2 separate regions of the Homo sapiens genome follow, and region 1 is linked to region 2. Evidence: promoter capture Hi-C in 16 types of primary human blood cells and fetal thymus (Javierre and others, 2016). All regions are on one chromosome and are shown on one strand. Each heading gives the region's core, a stretch centred on a gene start or on the middle of the fragment in contact. The rest is flanking DNA. Distances are from core to core; before and after follow the strand shown.

What was found. The method cuts DNA at HindIII sites, captures the fragments that hold promoters and counts their contacts. A CHiCAGO score of 5 or more calls a contact.
Region 1: a fragment that was not itself captured here is called in contact with the fragment with the promoter of DPAGT1 in region 2 in 1 of 17 cell types (monocytes); the score reaches 6.5 in monocytes.

The regions. Positions count from the first base shown.
Region 1 is chr11:117,091,596-117,098,172 of GRCh38, reverse strand. SIK3 (SIK family kinase 3) reads left to right here. Exons shown (of 25, transcript NM_001366686.3): 1 at 1-30. Among named protein-coding and RNA genes, the nearest start is that of SIK3, 3.5 kb to the left of the region's middle. RefSeq lists an enhancer at 1,188-1,237. The HindIII fragment of the contact is 1,546 bases long and covers 888-2,433 here.
Region 2 is chr11:119,100,603-119,105,884 of GRCh38, reverse strand. DPAGT1 (dolichyl-phosphate N-acetylglucosaminephosphotransferase 1) reads left to right here and starts at 4,032. Exons shown (of 9, transcript NM_001382.4): 1 at 4,032-4,390; 2 at 4,747-4,867; 3 at 5,042-5,255. The coding sequence starts at 4,230. It also overlaps a transcript of C2CD2L not described here. RefSeq lists enhancers at 2,764-3,476, 3,688-3,997, 3,180-4,379, 4,191-4,904. The HindIII fragment of the contact is 9,998 bases long and covers 3,664-5,282 here.

The sequences.
Region 1 (6,577 bases), core at 411-2,910, 2.0 Mb after region 2:
CGGGCCACGCACCTCGTCACCAAGGCCAAGGTACCGGCGCAGGGGCCAGGCGGCAGTCGGAGCGTGGCGGGGCCGGGAGAGGTCCGCGCCCCCCAGCCGGGGGGTCGGGGCGGCGAGCGCGGCGCGTGGTGGGAGCGTTGGGGGCCGGGAGGCGGGAGGGAGCCAGCCGCGGCGGGGCGGGCGCGGAGCTAGGGACACCTGGGACTCGAGACGGCGGAACTCCAAGCAGGGGGCCGAGGGCACAGAGCACCGGCGCCCAGGAGCCGGGCGCGGGGAGGGGTCCTCGGGGCTGAGGGCAGGCGGGTAAAGGGGATGATTGGAAAGAAGGGGTCGGAACTCCCCGAGGGCCGGGAGACTGTAAGCCCAGAAGACTCTGGAACCAGCAGCTAGGGAATCATAAGGGAATGAGGGCAGGGGCATATGAAATGTGGACCCGGAGGATGGGGAAAAACAAGGGTGAAGTGGCAGACCCGGGCTTGTAAGGGGACCCAGGACGGCTGGGGCACGGACTGGGAATGTGCACGTCTGCAGGGCGCTGGGAGGTCCCAGGATCCTGGTGCCTTAAGACAGAGACAGGAATCCGCATTTGATCATCTAAGACTGATAGATGGTGCGAAGGGGATCCCGAGGAGACACGATTAGTGGAGGAGGCAATGAGGAAAATGGGGAAATAAGGGGGAAATTGCTTTGCTTGTCCACAGGAAGGGGCCCAGGGAATGGGGGAGTGAGGTGGGGGTGGGGGCTGTCCCAGGTTTATGATGGCACTAGGTAGTCAGGGGTTAAACAATTTGGGAGAGCTGATTGCTGGTTATTTTTAGTTGTTGGAGGGTCGGGAATTGTGGGCTTTGTAGAACCCAGGGTGGGCTTTTACTGGTTGGGGGGAAGCTTGTGATTGAAGAACCCAGACACCGGGAGATTACACTCATCGAGCCCTTAGTTCTCAAAGGGATTTGAGGCGCTATAGGAGTGAAATTGGCCAAGGTCAATTAGGAAGCTATATATGTATGCATGTAAAATTCTTTGAGGAAATATGGTAGCACTTTCATGTAGCCTTCGTTGGGAGGACTGGAATCTAAGACATCAGGAGGAATCTTTTGGTTTTGGTGGAACCCGCAAAGCCCATTTTTACTCTAAAATTTTCTTTGCTCAATATCTTACTTGAATGAATACTTTTAATGTAGTCATTCATTATGTTTAGAACTGCAGCTTGTGTTTTCCCTCAGCCTGAGGAATGAAGAACCCTTACAGCTGCTGCCGCCTCCTACCAAAGCCACATCAATTCCCCTCACCTCCTCAGCCTAGCCTCTGGTTGTCATGACCTACCTTGTTTTTGCTTTTTTGGCAGTGGCTTGTTTTCTGAAGCCAGTGACTTATCTAGGCCTTCTCTCCTGATCACTTGCAACCTGAAGTTCCTTCCCCACCATCTTTCTGCCTGAGGCTACAAGGGGCCCTTCTTACCAGGGTGTCAGGGTGGGTGGCTGTGGCGAATTGATTGGTCAGTTTCACTTCCTCTGGAGGGCCCTCTTCAGCCTTTTTGTCCGTTTTTATCACAGGGCCTCCAGTCTGCAGGTCAGAGCTGAATGAGATACCAAAGTCCAGGGCTCCCTCAGACCCTGAGGGGAAGTCAGGGGAAGTCGATTGAGCCAAGACTTTGGTGTGCTCCTCACTTGCCACCCCAGCCCCTCACCGTGTTTCCAGTCTAGTTGACTATTAGCCAAGGCAAACTTACATTTACAAACAATATGCCTTGTTCCTTGTTTTGCTATTTCTTTCCTTTTTTTCTGCCTATTTTCTGTGTAATCACTTTGTGCTCCTGTGGTTATTTTGCTCTGACCTCTGGGGGATAGTCTCCATGAACTTAATTGGTTGCCTGGTTTATGGTTTCATGATTTAAAGAATTTTGAATCTTCCAGCCCTTGGATACACCAAAATATTGATAAAATCTGTTACAGACAGGGTTGAATGTTTTCGTAAATGTAATTGCAAACAGTTGATTCTTGGCTTTAATATAAAAGAGACATTTCTATCTTCAGTAGTCAGCAAAGCCAGTGCCTAATTATGGCTGGTCTGCCCGCTTTCTAATTTTCATGTGTGTGTATATGTGCGTGCGTGTGTTTTTCATAGTTTTTCTCTGAGACCTTGGTATCCTTTAGGACTGCAGCATTTTAAACACTGGCTTGTTTACAAACGGGTGTCACTGTTTATGTTGGTTTTTATCTTTGATCATTTGTGGTATGCAGTTGTGCAATTCCTATGTATGGAAATATTCAAAGTCTTGAATGAGACTGAAATGGCTTGGACAATGAGTTGCATGTGTGAAGGAGCCACACCAGCATTCATTTGTGTTTCTGTAGCAGTGTGCAATTTCCTAGTTACAGTTACAAGTGCTATATCTTTTGCTGCTTAAATTACTCTGACTACATGAGTGAAGCTTAATTCACAAGGAGTTGTCACGTGCTCTGGGTGAACTAGGAGCATATTTTGGCCTGCTCCATGCTTCTCTGAATCCACTTTGGAAGGGGTTCTCAAATGCGGACAGCTTAGATGTGCCTAACAGCTGTCGACATACAGTACGATGGCCTATTAAGGTTATGGTTTGGTTATATAACAATGGTGAAGGTGCATAGGTACTAGAAGTTGCCGAAGCTGCTGCTTCAGTTAACTCAGGTTGATTTTTTTTCTCCCCATGCACTGCAGCCTTTATCTTACTTCTGCAGAGGGGTCATTTGGAAACAGAGAGTTATTTTTTTCCCCCATCTGTCTCCAGAATGTGTCATTTGTTGTTTTGTCTTTTAGAGGTGTGTGATTTTTTTTTCCCCTTGTAGGAAATGGTCTGGGTTTTCTTATAACCATATATAACAGTCAGACAGAGGTAATTCAGATGATACTTGTGTTGGCTGAAGGAGGTTAGGTAATAGGTATTTTCTGAACATTAGAAATAATTATGATCCCCCTCCTTTTTTTTTTTTTTTTTTTTTTTAAACACACATGACCCATTCCAAGAACTAAGAGACTAAAGTAAACCTCATTTATTGAGTAGGATACTGCACTCCATCCAATACTGCGTGGTTAAGCTGGCCCTTTCCCAAATTCTGTTAACTCTCAAACCGTCTAGAGTGGGATCCTGGGATGAATAAAATCAGTAGAGAAAAGTGAAGCTTTTCCTATTTGGTTGTTGGTTACTTTTGCAGCACGGCATTCATGAGCTCAGACTTCATATTGGCAGCACTGCAGTGCTTAGAGCGGCACTGCAGAACAGTTACCAGGAGAGAATGTTCAGCTGTGACATACTTTGGTTAGTAGCTCACCCTGGCTGTCTTTGTCCTACCTGCTTTGATTTCCTTTTCTTTGGAAGAGCCTTACTTAGCCTGAGGTTCTCTGGCTCTGTTTTTTTTTTTGGTAGGAAACTATAAAGTATTACAGATATTTTTAAAAAAGAATGTTTTCTGCTCTCAAATTGCAGGTAGTCTGTTGCCTGTGCCTAATTATACCTTCACTAGTTGGATGATTGGGAACAAAGAGTAGATAGATTTTGTATGCATTTTTTTTCCTTTTTTAAAATATTGGGGCAGGGTCTTACTCTGTCACCCAGGCTAGAGTGCAGTGACACTGCCAGAGTTCACTGTAACCTCCAACTCCCAGGCTCAAGAGATCCTCCTGCCTCAGCTTCCTAAGTAGCTGGGACTACAGGCTTATACCACCACACCAGGTTAATTTTTAAATTTTTTTTGTAGAGATGGGGGTCTCATTATGTTGCCCAGGCTGGTCTTGAACTTCTGGACTCAAGTGATCCTCCTGCTTCAGCCTCCCAAAGTGCTGGGATTACAGGCATGAGTCTGTAACCCAAATGCTTGGCCCATATGCATTTTTTAAAGTATGCATGACTATAAAAGCCTTTGGCCAAATACGTTTAAACTATATTTCAACAAATATATATCACTTGCCTGTTATTGGTTTGTGGTAAGAGTTCCAGCTTTGGATAAAGCAACCTGAGTTTGAATCTTTTGCTGCTTAATAGTTGGATATTTTTAGGCTGTGAGAAGTTATTTAACTTCTGTGTGCTTGGGTTTCCTCATCTGTAAAGTGGGATGACAGTAGTACTTACCTCACAAGTTTAGGTGTTATGAAGATTAAAGAAGATAGTGTATGTAAAGCTCTTAGAGCAGCATGGTGCCCTAATAGCATGACGTAAATATTACCATCATCATCATCGTTATCAGATGTTTTAGTAACATAATAATATTATGGACATAATAATAGTCCTCCTTTTTTTGCTTCTCACCCCTTGGGCACGATTCATGAATGTATATGCCATTAGTTTTGTGTAGGTAGATGCCATCCTGACGATAGACTTTCCTGGTAAAAAAAAAGTTTGCTACTATTGCAGGTGCCACTTTGAGATAGTTGGATTTAATTTGTATAGGGTACAGGCTGGCTAATCTCATGAAATCAGCATTTTAAAACATAAATTTTCATTAGTTAAACTTTTTTTTTTTTTTTTAAATAGCAATGTGACTTATCTAATGAAAACTGTGACCAACACTGGCTTTTGCTTTGGGCTGCCTTGAATTTTCAGTGTGTTTTGTGTAACTAATTTTTGTTATGTTGATGATGGAACAGAGTTGAGTGCAGTCTTTTCTCCAGAGGTCCACTTAAATTAGGTTTAAGTGAAATATTTAAGAAATGTTTCTGCAAGCTTAAGGACACATTTGCCCTTGCGTGCACAAGCAAAGGCCTTAGACGGCCAAGGTCAGAATTCTTAACTTTAAATATTACACAGAGAAGACATTTTGCCCTATGACCCCTTTCCAAATATTGACTAGCCAGACACATCGGTGTGGTTTAGTGCAAACTCATTTCCATGAGGAGAACAAGTCAAAGTGGGCTAAAAGCATTATTTTCACCTCTAAAGAAGAGTTTAACGAAGCACATGAGATGATGCTTTCACCCATTAGAAAACTGAAAACAAGATTCATTTGGTAAGTAGGAGAGAATTATGTCAAAAAGAAATTGAAAGCAGAATTTACATTAGATACATTTGAGGAAGATAGCCCCATCCCTAGACAATCTAGAAGTGACTATTGAAAGATGATTATGTTCAGTTTGATACAGTGGTGATGGGGTTGCTAAACGTTTTTGAAATTTTGTAAAGAGCTAAGACTGATTGAGACTAGTCTCTCCAGAGTCAAAATACCAGTATTCCATTTTCTACATCAAAGATGTTTATTTTAACATTTTGACTTTGGTGCCAGCTCCCTAGAAAGTCATAGATCTCGCTCAAGCCAGAGGTGCCCAGACTAGTTATTTCTGTGCCAGAAGTGCTGTTTTCATTTTTCAGGCTTCAGTCTGGCTAATGTTTTCTAGTTCATCGCGTAAAAGAGAACAAAATGGATGCTTTGAAAAGAAAAAGAAATGCTTTCTACTCACCAGAGCCACTGTAACTGTAAAACAACACCTAAGACATCTGCATAGAGATGGAACCTTTCCCTTAATCATTTATTCATTCAACACATTTATTGAATGAAAATTTTTTGTCAGGTTCCATTCTAGGGTCTGGAGTGCACCAATGAACAAGGGAGACAAAAAGCATCTGCCTTTCTGGAGCTTTCTAGTAGAAGGAGACAGACAAGGGACATGTAAAAAAATTAAAAATTTCATATAGGAATGAATACCAGGAAGAAAATAAACGGACTAGAGAATCCCTGGGGGGGGCTGCTGCCTCAGATAGAGTGGTCAGGGAAGACCTTTCTTTCCAAGATGATGATATTTGAGCTGAGACCTGAGTGATGAGAAAAAGCCAACCTGGGAAGATTTGGAAGACAGAAGATTCCTTACAGAAGGAATGGCATGTGCAAAGGCCATGGGGCAGAAGTGAGTTTGGTTTGGTCAAAGATTAGACACAAGGTCATGATGCCATGGTACCTTAGCAAACAAGTGGAAGGATGGGAAAAGATGAGGCCAGACATGTAGGAGGGGCCAGATCATCTGGGTCTTATGGCCATTTTATGGAATTGGGTGTGACACGGGGGTGACATCAGAGAGTATCAAGCAGAACACTAATATCACCTAATTTATGTTTTTAAAACGTGGCTGGATGTGGTGGCTCATGCCTGTAATTCCAGTGCTTTGGGGGGGCATGAGGCAGGAGGATCACTTGAGGCCAGGAGTTCAAGACCAGCCTGGGCAACATAGTGAGATCCCATCTCTACAAACAATTTAAAAATTAGCTGGGTGTGGTGGTGCGCACCTGTAGCCTCAGCTACTTGGGAGGTGGAGGCGGGAGGATCACTTGATCCTGGGAGTCTGAGGCTGTGGTGAACTATGGACACACCATTGTATCCCAGCCTGGGTGACAGAGTGAAACCCTGTCTCAGGAAAACAAACCAAAAGAAAAACAGCAACTCATGCTGGTTATTTTATGGTTAAGAGCAAGAATCCTTTTCTGATGCATTTCTTGGCACAAGGGAGGAGTTCAGTTTTAACAACTTATATTCTTTCTCACTGTAGAGGAATATTGACATAAATTGCACATAAATTAAGCATGATCAACTAACAAGTATTTGTTGATTTATTGGGC
Region 2 (5,282 bases), core at 2,783-5,282:
TGTCCAGGTAGAAGCTTTCCCTATGAAGACCCTCTTCCCCCAAGAATCCTTCAGGAACCCTCAGACCCCCTAGTGATCTCCATTCTCTGACTTCTTTGATTTATTCCCTCAACTTCTCCACTGAGTGCTTGGTCCTATGCTGCCAGATACTGCTTCACAATTCAGTATCTGAACTGTGAGTCTACCTAGTTACATGAGTCTCCCTAGTTAGTCCTCCCTCTTTTTTTTTTTTTTTTTCTCTTTTCTTGAGACAGAAAGTCACTGTTGCCCAGGCTGGGGTGCAGTAGCGAGATCTTGGCTCACTGCAACCTCCACCTCCCAGGTTTGAGTGATTCTCCTGCCTCAGCCTACCAAGTAGTTGGGACTATAGGCATGCGCCATCATGCCTGGCTAATTTTTGTTATTTTTAGTAGAGACAGGGTTTCACCATGTTGGCCAGGCTGATCTCGAACTCCTGACCTCAGGTGATCCTCCCGCCTCGGCCTCCCAAAGTGCTGGGATTACAGGTGAGAGCCACTGTGCCCAGCCTAGTCCTCCTTCTTTCTTCCATTACTTAGACCTCTAGCACTTACATTCTGCCTTAGAGTCTAGCTGATTGTTTATATGTCTGCTTTTTCCATGCATCAGGAAGCTGCCTAGGGGTGGGAACCATGTCTTAGTCATCTCTTTTCCCTCAAATTCAACCAAGATGCTCCAAATATGCTGAAGTAGACTCCCTGGGGGCAAGCAACTGCAATTATATTAGTTTGTATCCTCCACAGTACTGAAGAGCTTCCTATGCACATAGTAGGGATTAACAAACTTTGTAATTTTAAGAAGTCTAACAGAAAATACTCAAGTATGCTTTGAGAATTTCTATGCCATTTCTGTCTTTTGAAATATCATTCATGCCATACCAGTGGAATGGGAAATCCTGGGGCTTGCTTTTAATTAACAACTTTTTTCTAGACTAAGAGGGGAGAGGTGGGAGGAAAAGGAAAAAGAGTGATTCAGCTGACTGGACAGAGCCACAGATAGAGTCCTGCAAGTATCACAGCCCCAGACTATCCAGAGGGGTCTCATTGTCTTTGTGGCACTATGAAACATTTTTGGGACAGGCTTTGTCTAGCAATCACATTCAGTGGATTGGCCTTGCTCATTGGGAGCCACTCAAGGCTACTTAGAAGAGGTGTGCATCTCAAACACTGTCTGCTCAGTCCAGGGCCACTGACAAGTCAACTGGTCTGTGAATCCTAGGGCCGGCTTCAGCATTCAGGAAAACGCTTTGAACTTTTACCAGGGAAGGCACACAATTTCAAGTGAAGCCAAAAGTCATGTGTTTGTTTCTCCTTCTGATTAGTCTGATCATCAACTGGGACTTTATCATCATGGGAACAAAAATACTCAGATTATCTGACAAGTATCTTAGTAACCATTTTCTGATAGTAACATGTATATGTGGATGATGAATCCTTAGTCTCTCTTGTCTTTGATTACATCCTTCCACCCTCCCCAGGAGGGTGGTGGTAGGGAGGGCTAATGATCTCTGGAGAAGAAAGAGATAAAGCTTCCCAATACCAGGCTGGGAAGGAAGATTTATTAGGATTGGCCTCCTAATAAAAAAGGAAATAGATACAGACTGGCTCTCAGACCTCCAGGGAGTCTCAGTATACTCGTCATCAACAAGATAACTGAATGCTGCCTCCTCTGGGATCCCACAAGCTCCTCCTTTCCACCAGCTTCTGGTGTCTCACTGTCGCTGCCTGTGAAAGGTCCTTCTACTCTTATAATCTACTGAAATGATACTTCTCTTCCTCAAGACCACTTACTCTGGTCACAACTAATTGCTCCCTCCATATGCACCTATTGCCCTCAGTCCTCCTTTCAGCCTCAGCCTCATTATGTGTGATGATGCCTTCCTTGTACACAGATGTCTGTGTTCCTAGCCCCATGGGGACACCCTGTGGAAGAGAAAACACTTGCCTCCCGGGAGTTTCTAGTTTAAAAGGGGCACACGTGCATACACACAACACACACAGAAAAATAATAGCAGTGGGATAAGTACTGAAAATCTGGTGGAATACTAGCAAGTAAATTACGAAAATTTATGTATTTTATACATATCTGGGTTTTTGTTGTTGTTAATTAGAGCCATTTTCAAGTAGAAAAGCCATTTCACATCTGATTTAGTTTGTTTGTTTGTTTGTTTTGAGACAGTTTCCCCTCTGTTGCCCAGGCTGGGATGCAGTGGCATGATCGCGGCTCACTGCAACCTCCTCATCCCAGGTTCAAGCGATCCTCCTGCCTCAGCCTCCTGAGTAGCTGAGATTACAGGCATGTGCCACCACACCCGGCTAATTTTTGTATTTTCAGTAGAGACGGGGTTTCACCGTGTTGGCCAGGCTGGTCTCGAACTCCTGACCTCAAGTGAGCCACCCACCTTCGCCTACCAAAGTGCTGGGATTACAGACGTTAGCCACTGCGCCCGGCCTCACATCTGATTTTGAGGGAAAGAAGAAACTATCTTCGGCTTAAAAACGGTCAACATGACCCTGACTCCTGGAACATGCCATAGAGGGAAGAGTGGACAAAGCGCTAGGCTATTGGAGTCCTTTCCCTAACTCACTGGTGGTGACTTCCTCTCTGACAAATGGAAATCATTTGCCGCCTAAGAGCCTGTCGGGGAATGAAAGGTAATAAAGATGCTGGTGAACTGGCTGGGCGTGGTGGCTCACGCCTGTACTCCCAGCATTTTGGGAGGCCAAGGCGGGCAGATCACCTGAGGTCGGGAGTCCCAAACCAGCCTGACCAACATAGGGAAATCCCGTCTCTACTAAAAATACAAAATTAGCCGGGCGTGGTGGCGCATGCCTGTAATTCCAGCTACTGCCTGTAATCCCAGCTACTCGGGAGGCTGAGGCAGGAGAATCTCTTGAACCTGGGAGGTGGAGGTTTCGGTGAGCCGAGATCGCGCCATTGCACTCCAGCCTGGGCAACAAGAGCGAAACTCTGTCTCAAAAAAAAAAAAAAAAAAAAAAAAAAAAAGCTGGTGAATTGTTGTTTGCAGGGGAACAGGCCAAGCAAAATGCACAGCAACCTGCAGGAGGCCAAGCAAAATGCACAGTGACCTACAGGAAGAAACCTGACTGGGAGTTCCTCAGACTCACAGGAAATCAGTTGTGGGTCTGATTCCTCTCCCTCCTCAGCTCTTTCCAGAGCCTCAGCCTGGAAATCTCCATCTCCTCCTTGTGGGAGCTAGGTACAATGCAGTGATCCACGGCCAAGCTGAAGTCTCGAGTTAAATCCAAGACCTGAGGGTACTCCCAATCCCTCAGTGAAGTGCTGCGCTGGGTTGCCGGGCAACTAACTGCTACAGCTGGGGCAGAAGGTGGGTGGGATGCTGAGAAAAAAATACCAGAATCGAGGACAAGAAAAACAGAGTGGGAGGGGCTTTTCAAGGATCTACGCTTTAGAATTTACACCATCCTTCCAAATCGTAGCTTTGTTTCCGGGAACTGAGTTGTGTTTACCTTGGCTTCCGACTATGTTGGCAACAGGTTTCCTGCAAGAAACAGGCGCGTCTCCACACCCTCGTCCCTCCTCCCCACCCCCTGCCTTTCAATAGCCATCTTCCTGGAGCCGGAGGCATCCCAGATTAAGGGAGAGGTACGGGCCCTTTAAGCTTGACCTATGGAGGCGGACGGAGCTAAAACTGACGTGGAACCGGAATGTGAGCGGTGTCAGACACGTGGTACAAGGAGGCATTCATCTTGGAACCGGGCAATTGGCATTTCCGCTCTGGGTAGTACATCTTTAACATAATGTTAGGGAAGTATCCGTTCTTGGCTGCCTTTCTTTAATTGCGTTTCCAGTACTCTCTCGGTGATTCTACTCTTGAACATAGGATGAAATTTGGAATCACACTTCTCTTCCACTTCCATCCCCACCCTCTAATGCCCATATTAAAAATGGCGGCCGCCGCCTTCCGCAGTAATGGTTGTTCAGCGAACAAGATCCGGGCGGAAACAGTAGATAGGCGGGTGCAGCGGGGCAGAACATAGGTTGCCTTAGAGAGGTTCCCCGGTGTCCCGACGGCGGCTCAAGTCAGAGTTGCTGGGTTTTGCTCAGATTGGTGTGGGAAGAGCCTGCCTGTGGGGAGCGGCCACTCCATACTGCTGAGGCCTCAGGACTGCTGCTCAGCTTGCCCGTTACCTGAAGAGGCGGCGGAGCCGGGCCCCTGACCGGTCACCATGTGGGCCTTCTCGGAATTGCCCATGCCGCTGCTGATCAATTTGATCGTCTCGCTGCTGGGATTTGTGGCCACAGTCACCCTCATCCCGGCCTTCCGGGGCCACTTCATTGCTGCGCGCCTCTGTGGTCAGGACCTCAACAAAACCAGCCGACAGCAGATGTGAGCAGCGGCACACGGGTCCGGGCAGGGGGCAAGGGCTAAGGAAGGAGTGGCTAGGGCAGGGGCGGGAACCGGGGTGCTTGACCACACGTGAAGACTCAGAACTAACCCAGGCAGCCTGGAACTCGGAGAGGTGATGAGCAGAACTTACTCGCATTGGGGAAAGGATGGGTAGGGACCCTTGGGTATATCTGGGACTCTGGCAGTGGTGCTTTCCTCCCTCCGCCCCCCTCACCACTTACCAGAATAAAAAACCGGGAATGAGAAGACCACTTTGGGTTACTGTAACACCTGCACTAGTGAGTGACCACGCCCCCTTTCCTCTTCCCCCTCGCCCCCTTGCTGCTGGGCCACAGCCCAGAATCCCAGGGAGTGATCAGCGGTGCTGTTTTCCTTATCATCCTCTTCTGCTTCATCCCTTTCCCCTTCCTGAACTGCTTTGTGAAGGAGCAGTGTAAGGCATTCCCCCACCATGAAGTAAGTGGGTTCGTGGGGGTGATTGCCTGTGGCTGGGACCTGGGAGGTACCTGAGAGAACTGGGGTTATTTGGGCTTGTGGGGAGGGGCTAAGAAATTATCAGAAAAGACAGGAATTCTTAAAAGGTGGAATGGGAGCAGGCTTGAGTCATGGACCTGCCCGAGCCTCCCCCAGTTTGTGGCCCTGATAGGTGCCCTCCTTGCCATCTGCTGCATGATCTTCCTGGGCTTTGCGGATGATGTACTGAATCTGCGCTGGCGCCATAAGCTGCTGCTACCTACAGCTGCCTCACTACCTCTCCTCATGGTCTATTTCACCAACTTTGGCAACACGACCATTGTGGTGCCCAAGCCCTTCCGCCCGATACTTGGCCTGCATCTGGACTTGGGTAGGTAGTCCTACCACTGCTGCCCCT